3 separate regions of the Homo sapiens genome follow, and regions 2 and 3 are each linked to region 1. Evidence: promoter capture Hi-C in 16 types of primary human blood cells and fetal thymus (Javierre and others, 2016). All regions are on one chromosome and are shown on one strand. Each heading gives the region's core, a stretch centred on a gene start or on the middle of the fragment in contact. The rest is flanking DNA. Distances are from core to core; before and after follow the strand shown. Region 1 holds the start of PRLHR (prolactin releasing hormone receptor). Region 2 overlaps LINC03036 (long intergenic non-protein coding RNA 3036). Region 3 overlaps CACUL1 (CDK2 associated cullin domain 1).

Region 1 (4,063 bases), core at 927-3,426:
AGCTCATGCTTGTAATCCCAGAACTTTGGGAGTCTGAAGCGGGAGGATTGCTTGAGCCTAGGAGTTCAGTCAGCCTGGGCAACATGGCAAAACCTCACCTCTACAAAAAATTAGGCCAGGCGCAGTGGCTTACGTGTGTAATTCCAGCACTTTGGGAGGCCGAGGTGGGCGGATCACGAGGTCAAGAGATCAAGACCATCCTGGCCAACATGGTGAAACCCCGTCTCTACTAAAAATACAAAATCATCTGGGCATGGTGGCACGTGCCTGTAGTCACAGCTACTCGGGAGGCTGAGGCAGGAGAATCGCTTGAACCTGGGAGGCAGAGGTTGCAGTGAGCTGAGATCACACCACTGCACTCCAGCCTGGCGACAGAGCAAGACTCCGCCTCAAAAGAAACAAATAAACAAAAATTAGTCAGGCATGGTGGTGTGCACCCGTAGTTCCAGCTACTTGAGAGGCTGAGAGGTGGGAGGATGGCTTTGGCCTGGGAGGTTGAGGCTGCAGTGAGCCATGATTGTGCCACTGCACTCCAGCCTGGGTGACAGAGTGAGATCTTGTCCTAACATATACATGTATATATACACACACACTGGTTTTAGCTAAATTGATTATAACTCAGGGACCGTGAGCTTAGGATGGACAGAGGTGCATAACATTGATTACTTTTGTTCCAATATTGACTTTTTTCTATATGAGTGATTCATTTAAATTTGGAGGGTGGAATAAATTGATATTAGTTTCCAGTCTAACTGGAATATCTGCAGCCAGAGGACAAAGTACAAGGACTTATCAGAGAGGAGACAATGAAGCTCCATGCTCTGGAAAAAGGAAACAAGAGGCTGAGGGAATGAGATAGCTTCTAAGGAGGGAGCTTACAAAGGCCCCTCCTCCCCTGGCTCTTGCCCCGTGGGCCAGGCTAATTTGCATTTCAATGAGGACTTAATACTACTGAAGATTTTATGAAACGCCTAAGCTTCTCAAATGTTTGTTACTTTTGTTACCCTAGCTGAAATCTGCAATTACCAGTATTTTTAAAAAATCCTAAAATGAAGAGAAGAGGCCTGTGGGTGTTCAGTCAAGGAGGGAGGGGTCAAGTCTCAGTCCAGGAACTACTCTGTGCTGGGAGAAGCAGCCAGATACGGCACAGGTCGCGGTAGCCGAGAAAGAAAGCGAGAGAAAGGGTGAGCCGGGGAGTCGCTGGGCCAGACTGAAGTGTGCCTGTGTAGAATAACTGGCAGGAGAGCTGCATTTTCTGACCCCGGGAGGTAAAAGACGACGCCGTCCTTGGCACTGAGTGCGGTGACCACCAAGAGGAGCAAAAGTCATGAGTCTCCGACCCCCAGGCCCCCGGCTCAGCTGCCTCCACTCCACCCTACTCTTCTCAGCCCCAGCCCAGAAAGCAGGCAGCGAGGCAGGTCTTTGAACCGGACCAGGTTCCTTCCCCAAACACCCGGATCCAGAGAGGGGCAGGAATTCCCTAGTCATTTTCCCCTGCTCCTCCCCACATCATCCGCCCGAGGGGCGGCAGATCCAGCGGAAGCTGTCCGTGGTGCTGACTCCTGCCTTTGGCTTGGCCGGACCCGCTGCCCGCTGAGCGCGCTGCAGCCAAGCAGGGGGCTCGTGTGGCGGGGCCACGGGAGGGTGAGGGTCCTCAGGTCCGCGACCAGCTCCAGGCTCTGCTGTTAAATCCCAGCCCGAGCCCTCTAGCGTCTCTGCCCTCCGCAACCTGGCCGCTAGGCAGGATCCAGCCTTTAAGAACGGGTCAGTCGTGCCTCTCTCAAGCCCCCAGCTGCATTGCAATCTCCCACCGCTACTTCCTTCCCCGCTCCTTCCCTCCTAAGACTGCACCGGCTCCTCCCGATAGCCTGACGCTTCGCGCCTCTCCTCCGCCCTCCTCCACTGTGCGCTCCTCCGGACCCTGACCCTCCAGGGGCCGTGCAAGCTCCTGCAGTAGAGATTCGTCCTCTTCGCTGCTCTGGCCAGGTTTGCCGGCCCCTCCTCCCGTTTCGGATTCCATCCTCCCCACACTGTCCTCTTCACTAGTTCTCTAAGCACCGAGCATGGCAGAGCGCGCTCCACCCCTATTTTCCATACATGGGAGCTGGAGTGGGGGGCGGAGCTGAGGGGAGGCGCTCCCAGTCCCTCTAAGAAGCTGCTAGCCCACTGGGAAACATTTGGATCCGTTCAGCTCCCGCGGAGAAGCGAGACCGGATCACCGACGTGGGCAGAGGACTACCGAGGGCCAGCAGAAATTCTGCCCCTTCTTCCCGCGAGTGCTTTCCCGCTCTCCAAACCCCACTCCCAGGTAGGATCGCGCTCCTGAGTCTGCCTGCGTGGACTGCGAGGACCGTAAATAGAGGCGGAAGCGTTTAAATAAACCGTATGTTCTAACCGTGCTTAGGTTTATTTTACAGAGGTGAGAGGACAACACTTTTTGCTACTTTTGCTGTTGTTCTGTGGCCGGTTATTCCCAAGGGAGGACTCAGGCGATGGGGGAGGGGCGCGGCTGGTGTAGGAGGTCGGATGGAGTATGGCAAGGGAAGTGACGGACTTTGATTACCTTTGAACAGGTGGCCATGGCCTCATCGACCACTCGGGGCCCCAGGGTTTCTGACTTATTTTCTGGGCTGCCGCCGGCGGTCACAACTCCCGCCAACCAGAGCGCAGAGGCCTCGGCGGGCAACGGGTCGGTGGCTGGCGCGGACGCTCCAGCCGTCACGCCCTTCCAGAGCCTGCAGCTGGTGCATCAGCTGAAGGGGCTGATCGTGCTGCTCTACAGCGTCGTGGTGGTCGTGGGGCTGGTGGGCAACTGCCTGCTGGTGCTGGTGATCGCGCGGGTGCGCCGGCTGCACAACGTGACGAACTTCCTCATCGGCAACCTGGCCTTGTCCGACGTGCTCATGTGCACCGCCTGCGTGCCGCTCACGCTGGCCTATGCCTTCGAGCCACGCGGCTGGGTGTTCGGCGGCGGCCTGTGCCACCTGGTCTTCTTCCTGCAGCCGGTCACCGTCTATGTGTCGGTGTTCACGCTCACCACCATCGCAGTGGACCGCTACGTCGTGCTGGTGCACCCGCTGAGGCGGCGCATCTCGCTGCGCCTCAGCGCCTACGCTGTGCTGGCCATCTGGGCGCTGTCCGCGGTGCTGGCGCTGCCCGCCGCCGTGCACACCTATCACGTGGAGCTCAAGCCGCACGACGTGCGCCTCTGCGAGGAGTTCTGGGGCTCCCAGGAGCGCCAGCGCCAGCTCTACGCCTGGGGGCTGCTGCTGGTCACCTACCTGCTCCCTCTGCTGGTCATCCTCCTGTCTTACGTCCGGGTGTCAGTGAAGCTCCGCAACCGCGTGGTGCCGGGCTGCGTGACCCAGAGCCAGGCCGACTGGGACCGCGCTCGGCGCCGGCGCACCTTCTGCTTGCTGGTGGTGATCGTGGTGGTGTTCGCCGTCTGCTGGCTGCCGCTGCACGTCTTCAACCTGCTGCGGGACCTCGACCCCCACGCCATCGACCCTTACGCCTTTGGGCTGGTGCAGCTGCTCTGCCACTGGCTCGCCATGAGTTCGGCCTGCTACAACCCCTTCATCTACGCCTGGCTGCACGACAGCTTCCGCGAGGAGCTGCGCAAACTGTTGGTCGCTTGGCCCCGCAAGATAGCCCCCCATGGCCAGAATATGACCGTCAGCGTGGTCATCTGATGCCACTTAGCCAGGCCTTGGTCAAGGAGCTCCACTTCAACTGGCCTCCTAGGGCACCACTCGAGGTCAATCTGGTGCTTATTCTCAGCACCAGAGCTAGCTAAGCCAACATAGGGCAACATTTCCAGCCCAGCCCTCTTGTCCGGCTGTCTGTCTTGTCCTTGTGTGTTTGTAAAATGTTAAGCGGGCTTTGGTGAGAGTCTTGCTCTTTGCTTGGGGGAGGCCAAAGAGAGGGAAGAGGATTTCTTATTTCTTCTTTATGCCCTTGAAGGACAAACAAAACTTTTTCTCCACGTTCAGAAAAGTATTTCAGAACCACGATTGCCTTCCTGGCGTCCCCTCCTCCTGCTCGTTGGTGAAATGAACAATAT
Region 2 (4,063 bases), core at 885-3,384, 240 kb before region 1:
ATATGGCTCCTACACCTGACTGGTTCTCTTCATCCTATGTGGCTGTTGTGGGGCCCAGAGAGACGACAGTCACAAAAGCACTCTGTCACTGGAGAACGCTGTGCAGGTGGAGCCGGGGCCCTTCAATATTCAAGAAATGAGTTCAAACTGGCCCGGAACCAAGGCAATGTGCACTCAGCCCACCCTCTGGCCATGTAGCCTTACCCTTCCCAAGCTACCCACCAAGGCTGTTGACCTTCCTCTCAATAAAGAGACATGGACATGGGCCTCGGTTGACCAACACTGAAAGTCCTGTGCCCTGGGAAACCTTTGCAGTGAATTCTTATAATTTTATGTTGCCTCAGCATCCATCTTGGATACACATTTAACTTTCTCCTACCAGAAGCAGGGCTCAGTTACTCTTGAGACTCTTGAGACAGTTTCCAGCTCCACACCCAAATGACTCAAGCCGCGGCTCCAGGTGAGAACTTAGAGGCCTCTCTCCCGCCCACCAGATGGGCTCCCCCGCCCCCGCCTTCCTGCTGCTTCCTTTAAACGGGCCATTCAGACAGCTGCCCATGAACTTAAGGTGACTCACTTCCTATTCCCTTATATACTACTCTTTGCCTCTCTGTCTCTCTCTGTCTCTGTATCTCTCTGTCTCTTTCCCTCTGCTTGACTCTTTGTTCCTGCATTCCATGACCCACGGACAGTGGACTGCCCTCCTTACCCATGGTGCCTTCCCTGCCCCGGATCTGTAAGTAAAAATATTTGAACTGACTTCCTGTCATGGTCGTGTATCGAACTTGCGCCTTCCATCTGAAGAACTGGGGGCTACCCCACTGGGTTTTCCCTGGGACATGGGAGTGGTGAGAAACACAAGGTTGGGCTTCCAGGAGGGCCAGAGTGACGGTCAGGTAGACACAAACTGGACACAGGTCAGACAAGACACAAGATCGTCTACCAGCATAAACACATTTCCTATGCCAGGCACCCTCCATTTGAAGGTTGGATAACCAGACATTAGGCCATCCGACAAGTAGAAGGATCGTGTGAAAGGCGTCCTGTAAACAACATGTTCACCTCCTCTTCATTTCTCATTAGGGCAGGGTTGCCAGCTGTGCTGGTACTGGAACCCCAATTTAGCTGAAGGCTCTCAGAACACCCCTCAATCCTGGGCAGATGGGATGGTTGGTCACCCCAGCTGGGCCTGACCCAGGGACTGAGCCTCTGCTCGCTGGCACAGGGTGGATCAGCTGGTTGTGATGGACAGGCAGGAGGCATGGCAAATTAGGGAAGTGACCTGTAAAGACTCCTTTCCTCCTGGCCATGACCTCTGCCCCACCCCCAGAGCCCCTCTTCTCCCAGGTCCCCCCTGAGTCCACACGGAACCTAATCTAAGCCTGCATTTGGAAATGGTCCAGTTTTCTCTCTCCCCTGCCCTCCTAAGTCTGAGTCACCATCACTTCTCACCTGGAGGGACTTCCAAACTCGTCCACCCATTTCCACTCTGTCCTTGTCCAATCTACTCTCCACACTGTCTACACAATCAACAAACCAATTGCCTCAAAATGCCAGTGTAATTATGTAGTCTATGCTTAAGGATTTTAGTGGCTAACCCGGTCCTCTTAGGATACAGACCTACCTCCTCACCTGGTGGGAGGGCCTGGCCCCATCCCTTCCTCCTCCCCAGGCTTCGTGCTATCCACCCCTACCCCTTGCTCACCCTGCTGATCTCCTTCCAGCTTTGGGGGCTGTTATGCACTGAACGTTTGTCCCCCTCAGATTCATACATTGAGACTCAATCCCCAATGTGATGGTATTTGGAGAAGGAGCCTTTGGGTGGTAATCAGGTGATGAGGGTAGATAGATCCCTTATGGGTGGGATTAGTATTAGTGGCTTTATAAGAAAAAACCAGAGAGCTAGCTCACCCTCTTTTCACCGTGGGAGAATGAAAAGTTGGAATTCTATAACCAAGAAGAGGGCGCTCACCAAAACCCAACTATGCTGGCATCCTGATCTCCAACTTCCAGCTTCCAGAACTGTGAGAAATAAATTTGTTGTTTATAAGCTTCCGAGTCTATGGTAATTTGTTATAGCAGCCTGAGTTGACTAAGAAAGGGACCTTCACACACATAACTCTGGTGCTTGGTCAGCTCTTCCTGCAAGGTTCGCCTGGTCAATTCCGTTCCTCTTTCAAGCCTCAGCATCAATATCATTTCCTCAAGGAAGCTTTGCTCAGCCTCCCTGATTGTACTGGTTTTACTGGTACTTATTCACAGCACGTAACACAAATGTAATTCTTACTTGTGTTTGTATGTGTGTGTCATTACTTGTCTTCCCTACAAGGCTAACTCCATGAAGGCAGGGATCACACTTCTTCCTGTATATCCCCTAAAGCAGGGATCAACAAACCTTTTTTGTAAAGGATCAGATAGGAAATATTTTAGGCTTTATAGGCCACATGGTCTCTGTTGAAACAACTCAACTCTGCTGTTGTAGCACCATAGCTATGGAGAACATGTAAATTGGCCAGGCACAGTGGCTCACGCCTGTAATCCCAGCACTTTGGGAGGCTGAGGCAGGCACATTACTTGAGGTCAGGAGTTCAAGACCAGCCTGGTCAACATGGTAAAACCCCATCTCTACTAAAAATACAAAAATTAGCCAGGCGTTGTGGCGGGTGCCTGTAATCCCAGCTACTCGGGAGGCTGAGGCATGAGAATCGCTTGAACCTAGGAGGCAGAGGTTGCAGTGAGCTGAGATCATGCCACTGTACTTCAGCCTGGGCAACAGAGTGAGACGCCATCTCAAAAAAAAAAAAAAAAAAAAAAGAACATGTAAAGCAATGTAACCAATACGGTTTGGATCTGTGTCCCTGCTCAAATCTCATGTCAAATTGTAATTTCCAGTGTTGGAGGTGGAGCCTGGTGGGAGATGATTGGATCATGGGGTTGGATTTCCCCTTTGGTACCATTCTCATGATAGTGAGTTATCATGAGATCTGGTTGTTTAAAAGTGTGTAGCACCTCCCCCTTCTCTCTTTCTTCCTCCTGCTCCAGCCATGTAGGTTGTGCCTGCTTCCCCTTCATCTTCTGCCATGATTGTAAGTTTCCTGAGGCCTCCCAGCCATACTTCCTGTATTGCCTGCACAACCGTGAGCACATTAAACCTCTTTTGTTTATAAATTACCCAGTCGCAGGTATTTCTTTATAGCAATGCAAGAATGGACTAACACAGTGATTGCGTTCCAATAAAACTTTACAAAAACAGGTGGCGAGTTGGATTTGGCCCATAAGCTGTAGTTTGTCAACTCCTACCTTGGAGCAGTTTTTCAGCATCACCTGGAAACTTAAGTTCTTGGGCCCTGCCCTATATCTGCTGAATCAAACAAATATTTTCCTGTTCATAGCCTTTACTTTCTTCTGGGATTCCAATTATATGTGTATTATTGCTATAGGTTGCTTGAAGTTGTTCCAGAGATCACTGATGCTCTTAAAGTTTTTAAAATCCCTTTTTAAAAAACCTATTTCATTTTGGATAATTTCTATTGCTGTGTTTTCAAATTCATTAATCTTCTGCAATGTCTAATCTACTAATCACATCCAGTGTTGCTTTTGTTCTGAGATGTTGTAGTTTTAATCTCTAGAAGTTTAATTTTGGTCATTTAAAAAATATATTCCATATGTAACTTTTTGAACATATGGAATACAATTATAATTGTTTTAATGTCCTTGTGTGCTATTTCTGACATCTGTGTCATTTCTGGGTTTTGATTGCTTGATTTTTCTCATTAGGGTTCTATTTTTCCTCTTCTTTGCATGCCTTGTAATTTTTGATTGGATGTCAGATGGTGTGAACTTTACCTTGTTGGGTGTTGGATATCTTCAAATTCTTGACCTTTACAGTTTGACCCCTTTGGGTTTTGCTTTTACGATTTGGTAGGCAGGGCTCAGGCTGGCATTAATTATTCCCCACTACTGAGGCCAGACTTTTCTGAATAGTCAATGCCCATGAATTATGAAGTTTTCCAGTCGGGCTGGTGGGAATAGGCACTATTTCTGGCTCTGCTTTGAGAAATTC
Region 3 (4,063 bases), core at 1,146-3,645, 140 kb before region 1:
ATAGAAAAGGTACAGTAAAAGCATGGTATAAAAGATAAAAAAAATGGTATGCGTGTATAGGGCACCTATCATGATTGGAACTTCCAAGACTGGAAGTTGTGTGGGTGAGTGGCATGAGTGAAAGTGAAGGCCTTTCTGTATATTGCTCTAGACTTTAAAAACATTGTACACTTAGGTTTTACTAAATTTATTTAAAAATTGCTTCTGGCCAGATGCTGTGGCTCACGTGTGTAATCCCAGCACTTCGGGAGGCCAAGACAGGCAGATCACTTGAGCCCAGGAGTTTTAAGACCAGCCTGGGGAACATGGCAAAACCTCATCTGTAGTCCCAGCTACTCTGGAGGTTGAGTTGGGAGGATCACTTGAGCCCCAGAGGGAGAGGTTGCAGTGAGCTGAGATTGCACCACTGTACTCCAGCCTGGGTGACAGAGTGAGAGACCCTGTCTCAAAAAAAAAAAATTATAAATAATAAATCAACCTTAGCTTCCTGTAACTTTTTTACTTTATAAACTTTTTAAGTTTTAAAAAACTTTTCGGCTTCTCTGTAATAACTCTTAGCTTAAAACATAAACACAGTACAACTATACAAAAATATTTTCTTATCCTGATAAAATTTTTTCTGTTTAAAAAAATTTCTGTATGGCTTTTACTTCTTATACTTTCTATGACCATTCCTCTTCTTTATCTACAAGGGCTTCCCTTCCATTCCTCAGGTTATGTTCTTGGCCTTCAGCTGCTCTGAGTCCAACACTTGGAAGAGTTCAGTCGTCCCCCTGTGCTGGAGGGAGCAGAACATTTTGCTGGAACATTCAGGCAGATTTATTAGATTGTTATTCACAGATGAGCATACTCTAGTGACAAAAAGTCATCATTTTTCTTTTAGATAGCATACATTAACTAGCTCGAGTTAAACAGGTAACAAAGGGCTCTTTTCTCCTTGTCTGTTCTGATTATCTAGTTGCAATTAATTAAAAAGTCATTCATAATTTAGCCTTTTAAATTTGGCTTAATTATTTATTTTATAATTGCCATTACTACATTCTTAAAGAGTCTATTCTAAATGAAGGTGGCTTTTTTGGTGGGAAGAAGGGATATGGAAGAGAAGAATTTTAGTGAATCTTTGGTAGGAAGACAGTTCCTAGCTACCTTTTTAACATTTTGTTTGATATATTCACACCTTTATTTGACTCTCCAAGGTGTTGAGAACAGACAAGCCATATATTAGCAATTGAGGAAAGAGGAACACCTAAGTGAACCCTGGCTGTCCAGGGCTGCTGAAGCATTAGAGTGGTTTTCAAACTTTAACAGGCGTAAGAATTATCTGGAGGGCTTGTTAAACAGCTTCCTGGGTTCCACCCACCCCTAGAATTTCTGATTCAGCAGGTCTGTGTTGGGGCCTGACAGTTTGCATTTGCAACAAGTTTCCAGGTGATGCTGCTGCTGCTGCTCTGGATCTCACACTTTTGAGGCACTGATAGAAAGTAATGATCAGTCTCTGCAGTAGACCAAGTATGAATTCATAATGCTTACTATAATTCCTGAATTTATTCTTCCCTTATAAACAAAAAAACCCTTAAAAGGATTATATAGTAGGGCTAACCTGGTTTGCTTTAGCCTATGTGAAATCAAATGTAATTTAAGCTTTAATTGCAAAACAGCTAATAAGTAGTATATCTTTCACTGTTTTTCTGTTCAGCATTTATTTTGACTCACGAAGTTAATTCGCTTTACAGATGTTACTGGGTACCTACCATGTGTCATATACTGTTTAGAGTTGGGGCTCTAGCAGTGAATTCCTTCTCCATGGGGCTTAACGTCTAGTTTGAGGGAGATTGACAATAAACAAATAATATGTCAAGTTATTTGGATTAAAAAAGTGTGAGAGTTGAACATATTTATTCTTGCCTGGTATGAATTATAGACCTCTAATGGTTTCCTGTTTATCAGCAACCTGATAATATTTCCTGAATGAAGATTCCAGCTATTCCATGTGTTTCAGACTTTGTTTCATTTTATCTTAGTAAAGGTCAGTTAAACTACTTTCTCAGTGGGATTTAGACTGTGTGAGCTTATTATCTTAAAAATATGTGTTTCTAGGTTTAAGCCTTGCGGCATGATGTTTTTACATTTTTTTAGTAAGTGTTTTAAAATTTCTTGAACCTCTGTGCCTCTAGAGGGCAACACACATTCTGCTGTTCAATAAAGCCCTCACCACTTTTCTTATTCTTGCACCAGGCCTGCTTTACTTATGTATGTTATTAGCGTGGCTCCTGTAGGTATTTGTGCCTGTAGTGCCTTCTTTAAATAGCATAAAAAGTAGTTCATTATTTTCAAGCTGAAAATCTAACCTAGATGAAGTTTAGTAATTTAATGGTAACTTACTTTTGTTTAGGTTTCATACTTTAATTTTGGCTCTTACTTGCTGATATTGCTCATTACATACAGAAAAGGAATTTAGTTAATTATCTAAAAAGTAAAATTCAAGGAATTCTTTACCTCATTGGAAGTCTGTATATACTCTTTAGCCACGTATAATATACATTGAAAAGACTGGCACAGTACACTGGCACAGCCGCAATATACTGGTGGTGAAATTATGAGTGATTTTTATTTCCTCCTTTTGCTTATGTATTTTCTAATGCAGGCTTCATACTGAACTGTAGAAATCAAGAAATAAAAAGTTGAAAAGTATTGTCTAAATAGGCAGCCTTGCAGATCTCCTAAGATCCTGTCATGCTGCTCTGATCTTAGCATTCTCATTTTAAAGTAGTAAATCAGCTATCTTCTACACATAGCATGAATTTTGGCTACTCTTTTGTGTTTTGTTTTGTTTTTGAGACAGTCTTGCTTTGTTGTCCAGACTGGAGTACAGGGTTATGAACATGGCTCACTGCAACCTTGACCTTTGGGCTTGAAAGATCCTCCTGCCTCAGCCTCCCGAGTAGCTGAGACCACAGGTGTGCATCACCACGCTCGGCTAATTTTTTTTTTTAAGTTTTTGTAGAGGTAAGGTCTTACCATGTTTCCCAGTGTAGTCTTGAACTTCTGGGCTCAGGCGGTGCTCTCGCCTCGGTCTCCCAAAGTGCTGGGATTACAGGCATGAGCCAGTGCGCCTGGCCTACTTTTTCTTTTGGTGAGTGTAAGCTTTTCTATGGGCAAAGTTGAAAGTGATTACATATCTCTTAACAAGAGGATCTAGTTTTTAAGTTCAAGATTACACACACACTCTGAGGCTATATGTGTCAGATGTTAAACTGAACAAATAGCTAGGAGTTTTTGTTTTTTAAACCAAGGATTGCGTTGAGATAAGCAAGTAAATAACAAATATCTTGAAGTTTCCTGGATTGTCATTTTAAGTGTTGACTGCAGATGGTTATGAAGAACCTTCCTGGGAAGAAAGTTATGTTAGCTAGCATATAAGGTTACTGAATTGGCTTTCTATTTACTATTCAGGTAACATAGATGTATATTGTATATAATAAATAATACGTGTGGAAATAGAAACTGCTTTTTTTTTTGTGTGTGGAAATAGGGTTTAAGATTCTCTACTGTGACACATGCCTTTTTCAATTTGGTTTTTAAGTCTCTTTTCAAAGATATTTAAAAGCATCAGCAGTCACTGTTTCTGTAGTGAGTCCCCATTCTGTACTTAGAACTGCAGGACTTTACATTTTGGTTTCTTTTTCCTCTTCTTCATATCTTTGACTTGGTGATTTGCTAAAGTGCGAAGCCTGTGCTTGAGAAGTAGGAGTGCTCCCAGCTGGAGCCATAGCATGTGGTTTATTGAACTAAGCATTTTAGGAGCCCAGAAGATAGGTATGTTAATTACTGGTGTTACTACTTGCAGTTTTCTTTTTGAGCGTGTTATCTAACCTTCAACTCTCAACTTTCGGTGTAGAGAGGTATTTCATGTGGTTTAGGTGGTACACTGATAAGGGATTCTGTAACTCAGAATCACACAGTGAGAATGTAATTTCTTTTTCAGTTTTCTTTGAATCCTAAGGATTACATAAATACAAAGGTCATATTCTAGAGCCTAGTGTGTAACACTTTTCAGTATCAA

Evidence for each region. The method cuts DNA at HindIII sites, captures the fragments that hold promoters and counts their contacts. A CHiCAGO score of 5 or more calls a contact.
Region 2: a fragment that was not itself captured here is called in contact with the fragment with the promoter of PRLHR in region 1 in 1 of 17 cell types (M1 macrophages); the score reaches 5.2 in M1 macrophages.
Region 3: a fragment that was not itself captured here is called in contact with the fragment with the promoter of PRLHR in region 1 in 1 of 17 cell types (naive CD4 T cells); the score reaches 5.4 in naive CD4 T cells.

The regions. Positions count from the first base shown.
Region 1 is chr10:118,593,761-118,597,823 of GRCh38, reverse strand. It overlaps PRLHR (prolactin releasing hormone receptor), which reads left to right and starts at 2,176. Exons shown (of 2, transcript NM_004248.3): 1 at 2,176-2,308; 2 at 2,574-4,063. The coding sequence starts at 2,580. The coding sequence ends at 3,692. RefSeq lists enhancers at 791-1,599, 1,600-2,408, 2,409-3,217. The HindIII fragment of the contact is 5,195 bases long and covers 979-4,063 here.
Region 2 is chr10:118,836,716-118,840,778 of GRCh38, reverse strand. All of the region lies in intron 3 of LINC03036 (long intergenic non-protein coding RNA 3036), which reads left to right. Among named protein-coding and RNA genes, the nearest start is that of CACUL1, 84 kb to the right of the region's middle. The HindIII fragment of the contact is 161 bases long and covers 2,054-2,214 here.
Region 3 is chr10:118,732,786-118,736,848 of GRCh38, reverse strand. The region is part of intron 1 of CACUL1 (CDK2 associated cullin domain 1); the gene reads left to right. Among named protein-coding and RNA genes, the nearest start is that of CACUL1, 20 kb to the left of the region's middle. The HindIII fragment of the contact is 1,503 bases long and covers 1,644-3,146 here.